Regions from separate parts of the Homo sapiens genome. Here region 1 is linked to region 2. The links are contacts of gene promoters, found by promoter capture Hi-C in human tissues and cell types (Jung and others, 2019). All regions are on one chromosome and are shown on one strand. The core of a region is centred on a gene start or on the middle of the fragment in contact, and the rest is flanking DNA. Distances in the headings are between cores, read along the strand shown. Region 1 overlaps BLNK (B cell linker). Region 2 holds the start of CCNJ (cyclin J).

What was found. The method cuts DNA at HindIII sites, captures the fragments that hold promoters and counts their contacts. A contact is called where the count stands out against the background at its distance.
Region 1: a contact is called between a fragment that was not itself captured here and the fragment with the promoter of CCNJ in region 2, in 1 of the 25 tissues and cell types used here (lymphoblastoid cells).

The regions. Positions count from the first base shown.
Region 1 is chr10:96,201,380-96,207,704 of GRCh38, forward strand. BLNK (B cell linker) reads right to left here. Exons shown (of 17, transcript NM_013314.4): 11 at 5,632-5,674; 12 at 3,153-3,237; 13 at 2,678-2,709. It also overlaps a transcript of ZNF518A not described here. Among named protein-coding and RNA genes, the nearest start is that of BLNK, 67 kb to the right of the region's middle. The HindIII fragment of the contact is 3,857 bases long and covers 1,446-5,302 here.
Region 2 is chr10:96,042,214-96,048,172 of GRCh38, forward strand. It overlaps CCNJ (cyclin J), which reads left to right and starts at 1,370. Exons shown (of 6, transcript NM_001134375.2): 1 at 1,370-1,506; 2 at 2,140-2,249. The coding sequence starts at 2,181. The region is part of intron 2 of ENTPD1-AS1 (ENTPD1 antisense RNA 1); the gene reads right to left. RefSeq lists silencers at 759-953, 1,081-1,650. The HindIII fragment of the contact is 11,661 bases long and covers 1-5,959 here.

The DNA.
Region 1 (6,325 bases), core at 2,124-4,623, 160 kb after region 2:
ACATACATTAAAGAGATTTACAAAATGTAAACTAATGCCACTCTTTTCCCTAAATTGTTTTTGTTTGGAAAATATAGTTATTTTTCATAAAAATATTATTTATGTTAACATGTAATGAGTTTAATATTATTTTTAAATGGATTAATAAATGTTTTAAATGTCTCAGTTTTAATTCTTAAAATACTAGGTATCAATAGAAACATGTAAACCAAAGCTCTTTGGGTCTACAATTATTTTAAGAGTGTTAAAGTGGTTCTGAGACCAAAATGTCTGAGAATTGCTGACTTCAGGCATCAACTCCCTCAAAGAGTTTACAGTCTAAATGTGGAAACATGTGAAATACGAAAAAGACTTATCTGCATTCATTCATTCATTCATTCATTCATTCATTCTTGTTTCTCTGCCATGGATCAAAGGCATTGGGGATATACAGCAGTTAACAAAACAGCAAAATGCCCTGCTCTCCTGGAACTTAAATTTTAATGGATTGAGATGGGCAATAAAGACATAAGTAAAAAATATATATATAATGTTAGAGGGTCATAAATGCTATGAAGAAAAATAAATCAGGAAAGGAAGAATATGTGGGTGAGATCTGCAGGTGGAGAGGGAGGAGGCACTGGACATCCCAGGAAAGAATGTCCCGGGTAGAGGGAGCTGTGAAGGCAAGGCCTGGCATATCTAAGGAATAGCAAGGGTGCCACTGTGCCTGGAGTACAGTAAGAAAAGGGGAGAAGAGTAAGAGATACAGTCAGACAGGAGGCAATGAAGGGACCAGATTTATAGGACTTGGTGGACCCTTAACATGACTCAAGAGCTGTAATGAACATGATAAGGGAAGCTTTTGGAGGGTTTTGAACAGGGGGGTAACATGATCTGCCTATGTTTTAACAGGGTCATTCCAGCTGCTGGGCTGGAAACAGAGGGTGGCAACAGCAGAGTGGGGGAGGCCAGTTCGGTGTTCTTGCAGGAGATGACAGTGACTTGGACAGATCACAGCAGTGGAAGCAGTGAGAGTGGTTGGATTCTGGATCTATTTTGAAGGAATAGCTGGAAGGTGTGTGAAGAAAGCAAGTGAGAAGTCAAGGGTGACTCTAAGGTTTTTGACAACAGCAACCAGAGTTGTCCTTTATTAAGATGGGGAAATCTGCAGGAGAAAGAATTCTGGATAAACTAAGTGCTTCAGATAATAGTGCCCTGGATGTTTAGAGAAGGCAGCCACCATTGTAAGAGGAGGGGGCAGTGAGGGCTTGGCAGGCCCAACAAAGATGGGCCAAAAGGAAGGATGTATTCTAATAGGAGGGGAACAGCACTCCCAGGTGAGAGCAGCAAAGGTGAGTGAGTGAACAGACTTTCCCTAGGTGCACAGTGCAGGGCAGTTTGTGGTTTCTGCAGTTCTGGCAGTTGGAAGAGTACCCATGGCTAATATTTTCTGACACCCGAATGTGCTAGGCCTATTCTGTTTTCAACATGCGTGCATCTCGTCCTTTCACCAGCTCTTTGTGGAATGAGCTATTATGCCCATTTTATAGAACAGGCCTTCTCAGACCATCCTGTCTACAGCAGCAGCCCTCCCTGCCTCCGTTACTCTCTGCCACCCACCCCTGCTGCTGCGCTGTATTTTTCTTTATAGCACTTCAGCATTTACCTGATATGATATTATTTGTGCGTTTATTTTTACTCTCTGTCTCCTTCAGTAGAATATAAGTTTCATGAGGACAGGGTCTTTATTTGTTTCGTTCATCCTTGTATCTCCTGTGCCTAGAACAATGCCTGGCACACGGCATATGGTCACTAACAACTGAATGAATGACTTGGTTTGAAAAACGGTAAAAGGTATAATAAACCTTTTTAAATAATGAAAAATAAATTTCTGTAGCCAAATCATTTTCACTTTGTGTTGTCAGAATTTTTTTTAAAAACTAGTAAAAGTTTCATTTATTTAAGATGAATATTATTAAAAATTTAAAAAGCCAATTTATGTTTAGTAAAAAAAATGCATAAAAATTTTGCATGTGGACAATTACTGTTTATTTAAATGGATTTAAGCTTTATTATTTTGGAATATATCCCAAATTATCTATGTAAAGCAGAGTTTTTTTCTTCCTTTTTTTCCCACATTGAGTTGCAGGCAAATTAAGGTTTGGGCAGTTACGTTCTGTGAGCCTGACTTATCCGATTCATATATTTTTAGGGTGATGTTTGCCTTGGAAAAATTATCCAGATATTTGCCGTATCTTCTTTTTAAGGTACCTTTTGTAGACATATTTTGTGATCTTTAAAATATATTTTGACTTAATTTAAATCGGTATTATTTGTTTAGAACCAAACACTATAGCTGGTGCTTCCCATATGTTGTTTTACTTGATCTTATTATTTTGAAAACAGCTGTATTGTTTTTGTAAAAAAAAAAAAAGTTAAAAAAGGATGCATGATCAGTAAAATATTAAATCGCTACTAAAAAAAGTAAAAATTGCCTCAAATATATTTACTTTTCAAAACAACTCTGTGAAATAAACATTCTTGGCCCCATTTTACAGGTAAGGAAACAAGTGGGAGAAGATGCCAGGATAACGCAGCTGGAAGCGACAGTGCTGTGTTAGAACCCAGGCCTATCAGACTCTAGGATCCAGCCTCGACCACTCCCTGATACACTACATGGCTTCGTTGTACTTACTTGGCAGAGGTATGGGTTTTTGGTGGATTTGTCTGCAAGAAAGAATTTCAGATAATTAAAGGACAAAGCACAATATGAGTAAGTTTGACTTTTTGTTTACACTGATGATGCTGTGAACAGGCACATCACAAATAAATCAATACAAATGGCCAATAAAATGTATCTAAAGATAAAAGAGCCACCAAAACCTTAAAGATAAGTAAGACTCTTCCTTTTAGTTTTGAAAAAGGAGGAAATCTTGACTAAAGTATTGTATTTTAGTCAAGTTCAATAATTAACCCAATTAGTAGGTCTCTGCAACTCTACACAGTTATTTTAAAGTTGCTCAACACCTTTTAACACGTAACTGCAAAACAATGAAATGTTGGATTTTTACCTAGCACTGCAAGTCAGTGTCACTGTGCAGTGAAACAATGCACATGTTAATTCCTGCAGCAACAAGAGGAAACTGATCTTTAAAGGAAAGGATTCTTACTTCTGGGCAGGAGGAAACACTGGTGACTGCACAGCTTCTTGTCTGTGACTTGACCCTCGGTGGCGTTCAGCAGGTATAGGTTTTTCTGGATCAGGAAAATTATCATATTAGGATTAGAGTGAAATGTCTGTCCTCATCCCAAAACCCAGCAACATCAGCTGAGAAGAACCAAATTTGATCAGAAGTCTTCCCGGGAACATGTCTTAGTTACTGAGATGTCATGGATCTGTGCACTTGCCAGTCTGTTGATGTGGTTGTGCTATGAGGACCAGGACTCCCTCCCAGCAGTGTTACAGGTACATCCTACCACCTCTGCATTCATCCACTGGCAATGTACATAGAGACTGAACCCACGGGCCCTGAAACTTTAAGTGTGTGAGTATAGGTGGAAGCCAGAAGATGAGAACATTTTAGCCACCCTCTAAACAACTCACCCTCTACTTGCCATGTGGCCTCCACACAGGTGGAGACAACACCCTGGTGGGTCTTGATTAGTCATAAGACGTGGTATAAGCAGTGTGTTACTGATAAGAGGCACACTACTGAGTTCATAAATGATCTCTTTTTGCAAAATTAATTGGATCAAATTCAAGGTTATCCCTATAATAATGTAAATCTCACTTGCATTTCAGTGTTTTCCTGAGCAGAAGAGGAAAGGGTGGGAAATGAGCATAAACCTGAAGTGTAAGAAATTTATGTTGAAGCCCATAGTGAACTCTACTGCTGAACCATTAATAAATGTGATCACACATTATTTTAATACTTTACTCTCCCTCAAATTTGTCGTTGGGGGGTGGGGTGTGTTAAAATCTTGGTATGTTCATGTGTGAGTCTGCATGGAAGAAAGGCTGAGAACTACAGAAACCCCAAAGAAATAAAAGTAGTAAGAACTCAAAGATTCAAATAAATGGTAAGATAGACGTCAGGGTTTCTTACCATTCAGTGGTGCACTAAAGCTTGGAAACCTTGAACCTCTGAAGATTGTATTTTGAATTTGTGGCAAGCTACTTCAAACCTCTATGTTAGATGTTTTGCTCATGACATTAAAACTTGGTAATTTCAGAAGGAGAAACAATGAACACCTTAGGTCTTGCCAGCCTATAAGCTTTGACTACACCTGCTCTGCCTCCGCCATCCTGATTCCTTCCTAGGCTAGTAGAGGCCACTCACTCACTTTGCATTTGGATGGTAATTGCCTATGCTCTTGAAATAAATAACAAAGGAGGGGGCATGCCTGGCAGGCTCCTGTACTGGGAACCCTTTGAGAATGAGGACACCTAAGCAGCAGTGGACATGCCTTGGGCCCTGCTTCTTTCCTGGATTTTGGAGGCTCTTGTAGCCATGAAGTCTGCACAGGTTGTACTTACTTCCTACAGATGCTCAGAGCTCCTGAAGTCACTATCACTCCACAACCTGGACTCAGCAGGTCTGAGAGGCTGCAAGGAATGGAAGTACAGAAAAGACAAAAGCCTCAAAGGGAAGGCAGAAGAAAGCAATACAGCAGAAAAGGGGTGATGCCTCAGAAATAGCCTAGGGAAGCAAGATATGGGAGACAGGATGAAAAAACCTAATGGCGTCATTAAAGCAGAGAGGTGAGTTGTAGTGCATGCTCAGAAAAGATCCACTGTCCATCATCAGAGAAAGGAGAGTGCTTTATGTAGATATACGCACATCAACTCAGGGAAGAGGGAGAATACTCACTACATTTTTAACCCTGGGTATCTTCAAGTATGGAATTAAATGGGTACAGGGCATGAACTTCTATATAATGTTTTAAGTGCTGATATTATAGATGATTCTTCTATTTTTTTCCGGTAATTTCCAAACACAATTTTTTTTAACATGAGCAGTTTCTAAAAATATATATAAGATTTTTGAGTGATGATAAAGGAAGAAATTCTAAATTACTCAGGAGGCTGAGGCAGAAAGACAACTTGAGCCCAGGAATTTGAAGCTGCAGTGAGCTATAATTATGCACCACTGCACTCCAGTCTGGGCTACAAAGTGAGACCCTAACTCAAAAAAAAAAAAAAAAAGGAAGAAAAGCAATTGAAGATGTACTAAGAAGACAGACAATTGAACTTTGAAAACATTATCTTGAAAACTTAGCAAAAGAACTTGTTCAAATAAACAGATTTTTAAAGTTTTCATTACTTTAAGTAAGCTATTAGTTCTAAAACATGTGAATGGCTCTACGTTAGTTTTCACATTTATGTAAGGTCCTAGCACTATTGCCTGGCAAGTCATATCTGTCTGCCAAAAGGCAGGTTTTTGCATGCATTCTGTAGCCTACTCTAAACATGCTGAGGTTCTGAGCTAGTTTTGCTGTTCATTGCTCATTGCAAAAACTATTTTGTTTAGAAAATTGAGTTTCATGTTTACAATTGCCCCAAAAATAATGTAATAAATGTGTACATACAAATCCTTAATAAAATAACTTTTAGAGGACATGCTCATCCTTCAAAATAATAGATTTTACCTTCACAAACACTTGAAGCATTCTGTTGAGAGGCAACTGGAGTCTATGTAAAAGAAAAAAAGGCAAGGTTATTCAATATAGCAGAATGTGGAAATAAATGTCAGAGCAATATTATTAAAATAAATATTTTGGCAGCACTTTTCTTTGATGCATTGCTATTCTTTCAATCACAACAACAATTACAAACCCACAGTCCCTAGCCCAACCTTTGCATTAAGCAACAAACAGCCAGAAGTGTCCTATGAAGGAGCAATGTCACTGTGGTGGAGAAACCTCCCTGCCTTGTCAACAGGGTTGATGGAAATCATGACCCCCCCAGCAGCTGCCACATAGTAACCCATGTACAGCAGGCATCTGGCATCTGCTTTGGTCTCATGACCCCCCCCTTCTGTGTGTTTGCTAAATGATTGTAAATGTCAGGCTTCACAGTAGGGACTAGGTCCAGGTGGGCTCCCTTATGTAGTGTTGTGGCCCAGGTTCACCATGTTCTGGCCAGAATCTGAGTTTAGTGAGGCCTATGTGTGCCTGATACACAATGGTCTACCATTAGCTGTGGTGGGGAGTGGACACAGACGCTTCCTGTGGAGAGGGCAGGGAACCTGGCTGCCCCTCTGATCTGCTGCGCACACTCAGTGAAGCTGCTGGGATCAAGTGAGGATGAGCTCCTTCTATGCTCCAGGGAGGAGCATCCTCC
Region 2 (5,959 bases), core at 120-2,619:
TTGTTTAATAGTCATGAAATGGAACCCAAGGATGTAGACACTATTTAAATGCCATTAAAAATGGCATGAAGCTTTTAGCCTGATGTGTCTACCTTCACTCTAGAGGACCCTGCAACTGAGAGACAGGCCAGGGCAGCCTTCTCCCTGGACTATGTCGGGTTAGGCCGGGATCTGCCAACTTCAGCTTCTGAGTTTCCCTTTTCTTGCCTTTGGTTCCTGCGGGCCTGCTCTCCTGGGTATAAGCATCGTCTATGGATAGGGTACGGCTCATATACATGTCTGCTGATGATCTTCAAATGAAGATGCCACCCAGAATCACATAAAATGTATTTATCACTTTGTAGTAGTTCTTTATCATCATGTATCTTTTTGGACAAAGGATTCAAAGTAAAAGGGGTGAAGTTTTAAAAATATTTACGTTTTACTATTAAGAGATTGATCTCCAGTCTCAGAAAAGTGGACAGTCTCACTGTCCTAGGGTTACCATCCACCTCTTTTGTGATAATCCACCAAAGAGGTTAAAATACAATTGATTAGGTTTCCTCTAATCACATTTCAGCCCCCATATCACCTCAATTGACGTCGGAGTGTTCTCACAGTTTTGCAGTTTCCTGATTTACGAGCACAGATGGTTAATTACATCCACCATGGGTTTGACAAGCAAGGTTACTAGAAGTAATCTTAAATGTCTTCATTCAAAGCTCTTGGGAATCCCTACAGCAACGAAAATAAGGAGGGGGAAGAGATTAATTAGGTTTCTAGAAGAAAGGTGGAGTTTGAGGTGGAACTTAAAAAAAGAGCATAATTTCACAGGAAAAAAAAAACGCTTCAGGGGCTGCAGAAACAGCTAAAGCACATTTGGAGGGCCTGATGATCCACGGAGCAGCCCCTGGGATGGAAGCGGTTGGTGCAACGTGAAGTAAGGTAAACCGAATCCATGCCGTGAAGACTTTTAAACGCCAAACTGAGGCGTCGGAACTTTGCTCCGCGGGCATCGAGGAGCCATCGAAGGTTCTCAGCAGGTGAGTGGCCTAACTGGATTGGTCACTGCAGTGATCCACCTTACAATTTCTCCGGCGCTCTCTGCCGACCTCAGCCGGCGATCAGGCCGGCTTCGCAGTAGGTGGCGGCTGAGCGCCCCGGCAACCGAAGCGCCAGGCCAGCCCAGGCCACGCCGCGCCGTGCGGGATGCTGACCGTACCCAGGCGGGAGCCGCCGCGCCGCCGCCTGGCGCTGCACCTGGGCCCGGCCCGGCCGCCAATTGGACGGCTCGGGGCGACCCCGCTGTATCGCGAGACGAGATTGGCAGCGGCGGGGCCTCAAGTGCCCCCGCGCTGGCTTTGTATGCGGAGCCGCCTGCCGGTCCTTTAACAATGGGCGGCGCGAGCGTCCAGGCGCTGGGCTCTAGCTGAGGCCGGCGCTTAGCGGCCCACTGTCCGCAGCATGAGCGGGGCCGGCGTCCGCCGCACGACGGCGGGGCTGGGGCTGTGAGGGCCGCGGTTCCGGGTAAGGGAGCCAGCGTGGGGCCGGGCGGCCCGGCAGGCCTGGGGTAGGCGTGGGGCAGCGGACCCTCCCGGGGTGAGGCGCAGAGCCTGGCTGGCCCGGCCTTTTGTTCCCCTTTCTGAGGCCGCGCGGAACGTGCGTTTCTCGGGGCTCCCGGGGAGGAGCAGGCTCCCGACGTCCATGCGGAGACCCGCGGCCAGGCAGACGCTCACCCCCGGGCTTTGCCATGGGAGCGTTTCCCCTCAGCGGGGCTATGAGCGTGTCACCTCTCCCCGCTCCTCAGGGAGGGCGGGAGAACTCCAGCCCCGGACGCAGGGAGCCCCAGCCGGGCCTCCCCCAGCTCTTCCCGAGCTCGCACCTGGCTCCGCGCTTTGGCAACTCAGGGCCCGAGTGGATCCCCTTTTGCCCGACACATAGTCGAGCAGTGAGTCTCAGAGTCCTTCGGCTCTTCCTGCGGGGGCAGACCCGGCTTCGCGTGTGGCGTTGGGGGAAACGACTCGGGTCGGGCTGGGTTGAGGAAGAGTCAAGTGAAGATGAGCAGCCACACCGGGTGGCCTGAGGTCACACCCCCCGGGGAGGGGGCGCAGAGGGTCGCGGGGGAGCCGGCAGTGACCGCGCCTGGGGTGTGTCTTACAGACTCGAGTTGCCGCGTCGGGCTGGGCGCGCCGCCGGGTCCCATGGAGCTGGAGGGGCAGTGGTGGCGAGGACAGCTGGCCGCCGATATTCACCAAGCGCTTCGCTACAAGGTAACTCCGAGGCCCGGCCTGCCTTCTCCTTCTGTGTGTCGCGCCAGTTGTTCTGAATCTCGGCTCTCTAGAAGGTCTAGTCAGGTTCTTTACTCACTATCTTCCGGGCCAGAAAAGGCGAGTTTGCTCATTTGCTCAAGGTTAATTAACTTCTTGGCTCCTTCTCTGGGATGTATCAAAAGAACCTGCAACCTGAATGAGTAGGGAGATGGTAGTTGGGCCAGGGAAGGTGGAAAGGGGCGTTCTGGCTTCCAGGTGGGTCATGAATTTGATCTTGTATTTTAAAAGATATATACACTGAATTTTTGTTGGGCAGAACAGCCCTCTTTGTTCGAGAGTTGCCGTTGCATGCAGCCAGTTTAAGTCGCTTTTGTACATAAATTCCTCAGCCTTTCCGCTAACTTGCCGTGAGACGTGGACAAGTGAAATTTCTGTTTCTTGATTTCCTCATCTGTAAAATGAGGAATAATGAGTGTGCCTTATGATTCTGGCGATTGTGAAACTTAAGTTAGTACCGTACATGTGCTTAGAAACTGCTCTTGGTATATAGTAAGCACTAAGTGATAACTTCTTATCACTTACCCCTCAGGATTTGGGCTGTTCAAAAGCCCTAAAGTGGAGGGAGTTGGCTGCCCCTTCCTGCTGATATCAAAGGCAGAAAGTAGACTTAATAGATATTGGAAAAAAATACTTTTCCAACACAAAGCAAAGTCTGTGTATTGTTGCTATTAAGTAACGGTTTTACTCTGCATGTGGCAAGGCAGATTAATGAGACATTTCTGCCTCTTCGATAACCAAAAGAGAGACCAGATCCAAAATGATCTCTAGCTTAACTCAGTTTCACCTTGGATAAAGAAAGCCATTTGTTAAATGTAGAAAATTGAGAAAGAAGCAAAACAGCTGACTTTCAATAAAAAGGATTCTGACTCTTGGGGTTGAGATCCTGGAATGATAATGAACTTTTATCTTGAGTTTCTGACCAGGTCAAGTAGATTGGAAAACCTAATTCTGACTTAAATTGTTACCCTTTTCTAGGCCTGAGATTTCTAAATGCTACTTAACTAATTCTGACATTCAGTCTCTTAGATTCACTAAAATACAGTTCAGCCCCCTAGGAGATGGTTTATACCACATAAAAATTCTAACTAATGGGATCTCTGGAGTGTTAGTTAGGAAAGAGTTGCAGTTTCTTGGAAAATTGTCCAGATACACTTTTGATCTTTTTTTTTTTTGGCAGATGTCATCTTTCAATGTGAAATGTTTTCTTTTTTAAAAAAATTAATATAGTTGCACATATTTTGAAAAGTGTTTTAAGTGTCAGCCTTTTTATCCCTCTGGTATGTAGTGAAATTAATTAGTTGATATTAAGAGTACTTTTTTTTTGAGTTGGAGTTTCACCTGACCTCAGGTGATCCACCTGCCTCGGCCTCCTAAAGTGCTGGGATTACAGGCATGAGCCACTGCGCCCAGCCAAGAGTATATTTTTTAATTGGCATGAAACTTAAAAGGTTTTTCTTGGTGATTTCCATACTTTTCAATCATTTTATGTGTAGATCATTTTAATTCGTGAGTGATTATCTGCATTTTGTCAATTGAGTTTGGACATGGGTTCTTTGTTTTTTTGTTTTTTCTCCTAGATTTAGATTTGTTGAAGGCTTTTGTGGATTAGTTTCTGGAGCATCCAAGGCATAAGACCCAACCTTATACTCACTCAAGTTGCTTATGAACTATCAGAGGACAAGGTAGCACAGGGTGTGAAGGAATGCCACTGAAAGTTTTATTGGGCCACCTATGGCCTACTGCCCTGGGTTGTCTTTATGTTTAAGCATTATGCAAACCATGGTTCTTACTGGCAACACTTTATACAAGAATTTACATTAATCTGTAAAACTTAAACTTGTGGAACTGGAGAGACCACTGTTTGTAATACACTGAAGGAAACTTAAAATGGACTTTTCTCCTAGAAAAGACGTGGTAATTCCAGGCTATTAATTGGTGATTCAGTCGGATAGTCATCTGTTTTTCTTCAACATGTTGATCATTTATGACATACATGATATCATGCCAGGTGTTAGAGCAATAACAGTGAACGAGACATGATCCTTGCCTTCATAGTCTAACCTTATCTATAATTTAGAGCATCCACATTTAGGTCTTCCTTTGGGCAGTTGCCATTGAGATACTGCAGAAGGTATTCTATGTTTAGGCCCTAGGTTTGTGGAGAAATATTTGGTGTGACTAGCATTGTGTTTACTAGGGAAGAGTGAAAATGACAATGAATGGAAATCATGCCAACTATCCACTCCCTCAAAAAACCCCTACAAAGCAGCTGTCACCTTACACCCTTTTGTCTCCTTTCTTCTCATTATTTTGCTGTGTATAGTTAGTGTCATAGGCTGTTTGGGAAAGTGTTTTTAGGAGCCTTAATGACAAATGGGAACAATTCTAGCTTTGTGAGAAACATTAAGAAAGTGAAGTCCATCAGTGTTTTCCAGGTGTTTCCAGGGAGTCTTTAAGACCATGTTCAGGCCACTTTTTGGGAAAACCTGCTCTGGTTTTGCCTTTTTTCCCCAACTCCCTAATCCCTGAGCTAAGTTAGATTTTCTTCCTAGGTGTTGCCATAATAACCTGTGGTGACTATATTGTGTGATAAGCTCTGTATTTGATTCACCTGCTAGAGATAGGCTTGAGACTGTTTTTCCAGCTTTTATGCCTGGGTTAGTATAGTGTCTGCTGCATGGGAGATGCTCAATAAATGTCACATGGTGGCAGCAAAGGTAAAGTTGCAACTCACTTACACCATTGTAAAGATCCAAAGAAAGAGTTAAGGAGAAAAGAAAAATCCTAGGAACTACATGAGAAATCGGCATCTTCCCTTTATGTGGAAAAAAAAAATTTTTTTGGCCAGGCATGGTGGCTCACACCTGTAATCTCAACACTTTGGGAGGCTGAAAGCAGGTGGATCACTTGAGTCCATGAGCTGGAGACCAGCCTGGGCAACATAGCGAGACCCTGTTGTACAGAAACTAACTGGGCGTGGCAGTGAGCGCTTGTAGTCCCAGCTACTCCAGAGGTTGAGGTGGTTGGATTGCTTGAGCCTGGGAGGTGGAGGGTGCAGTGAGCCAAGATGGCACCACTGTACTCCAGCCTGGGCTACAGGAAACCCTGTCTCAAAAAACAACAATTGATGTATTCTTTGGCTACACTACTAAATTACATTGACTATTTTATCCATTTATCTTAGGTAATATTAAGTTAGGTGAATATATAACTTCCCTTTTTTGTTTATCGTAAAATGTATCAACATAAAACTTTTTTTCCCCAACTTTTAAGTTCAGGGGTACGTGTGCAGGATGTGCAGGTTTGTTACATAGGTAAACGTTTGCCATGGTGGCTTACTGCACAGATCATCCCATCACCTAGGTATTAATCCCAGCATCCACTAGCTATTCTTCCTGATCCTCTTCCTCCTCCCACCCCCACCCTCCGACAGGCCCCAGTGTGTGTTGTTCCCCGCAACATGTGTCCATGTGTTCTCATCATTTAGCTCCCACTTATAAGTGAGAACATGTGGTATTTGGTTTTCTTTTCCTGCATTAGTTTGCTAAGGATAATGGCCTCCAGCTCCATCCATCTCTCTGCAAAGGACGTGATCTTGTTCCTTTTCATGGCTGCACAGTATTCCATGGTCTGTATGTACCACATTTTAT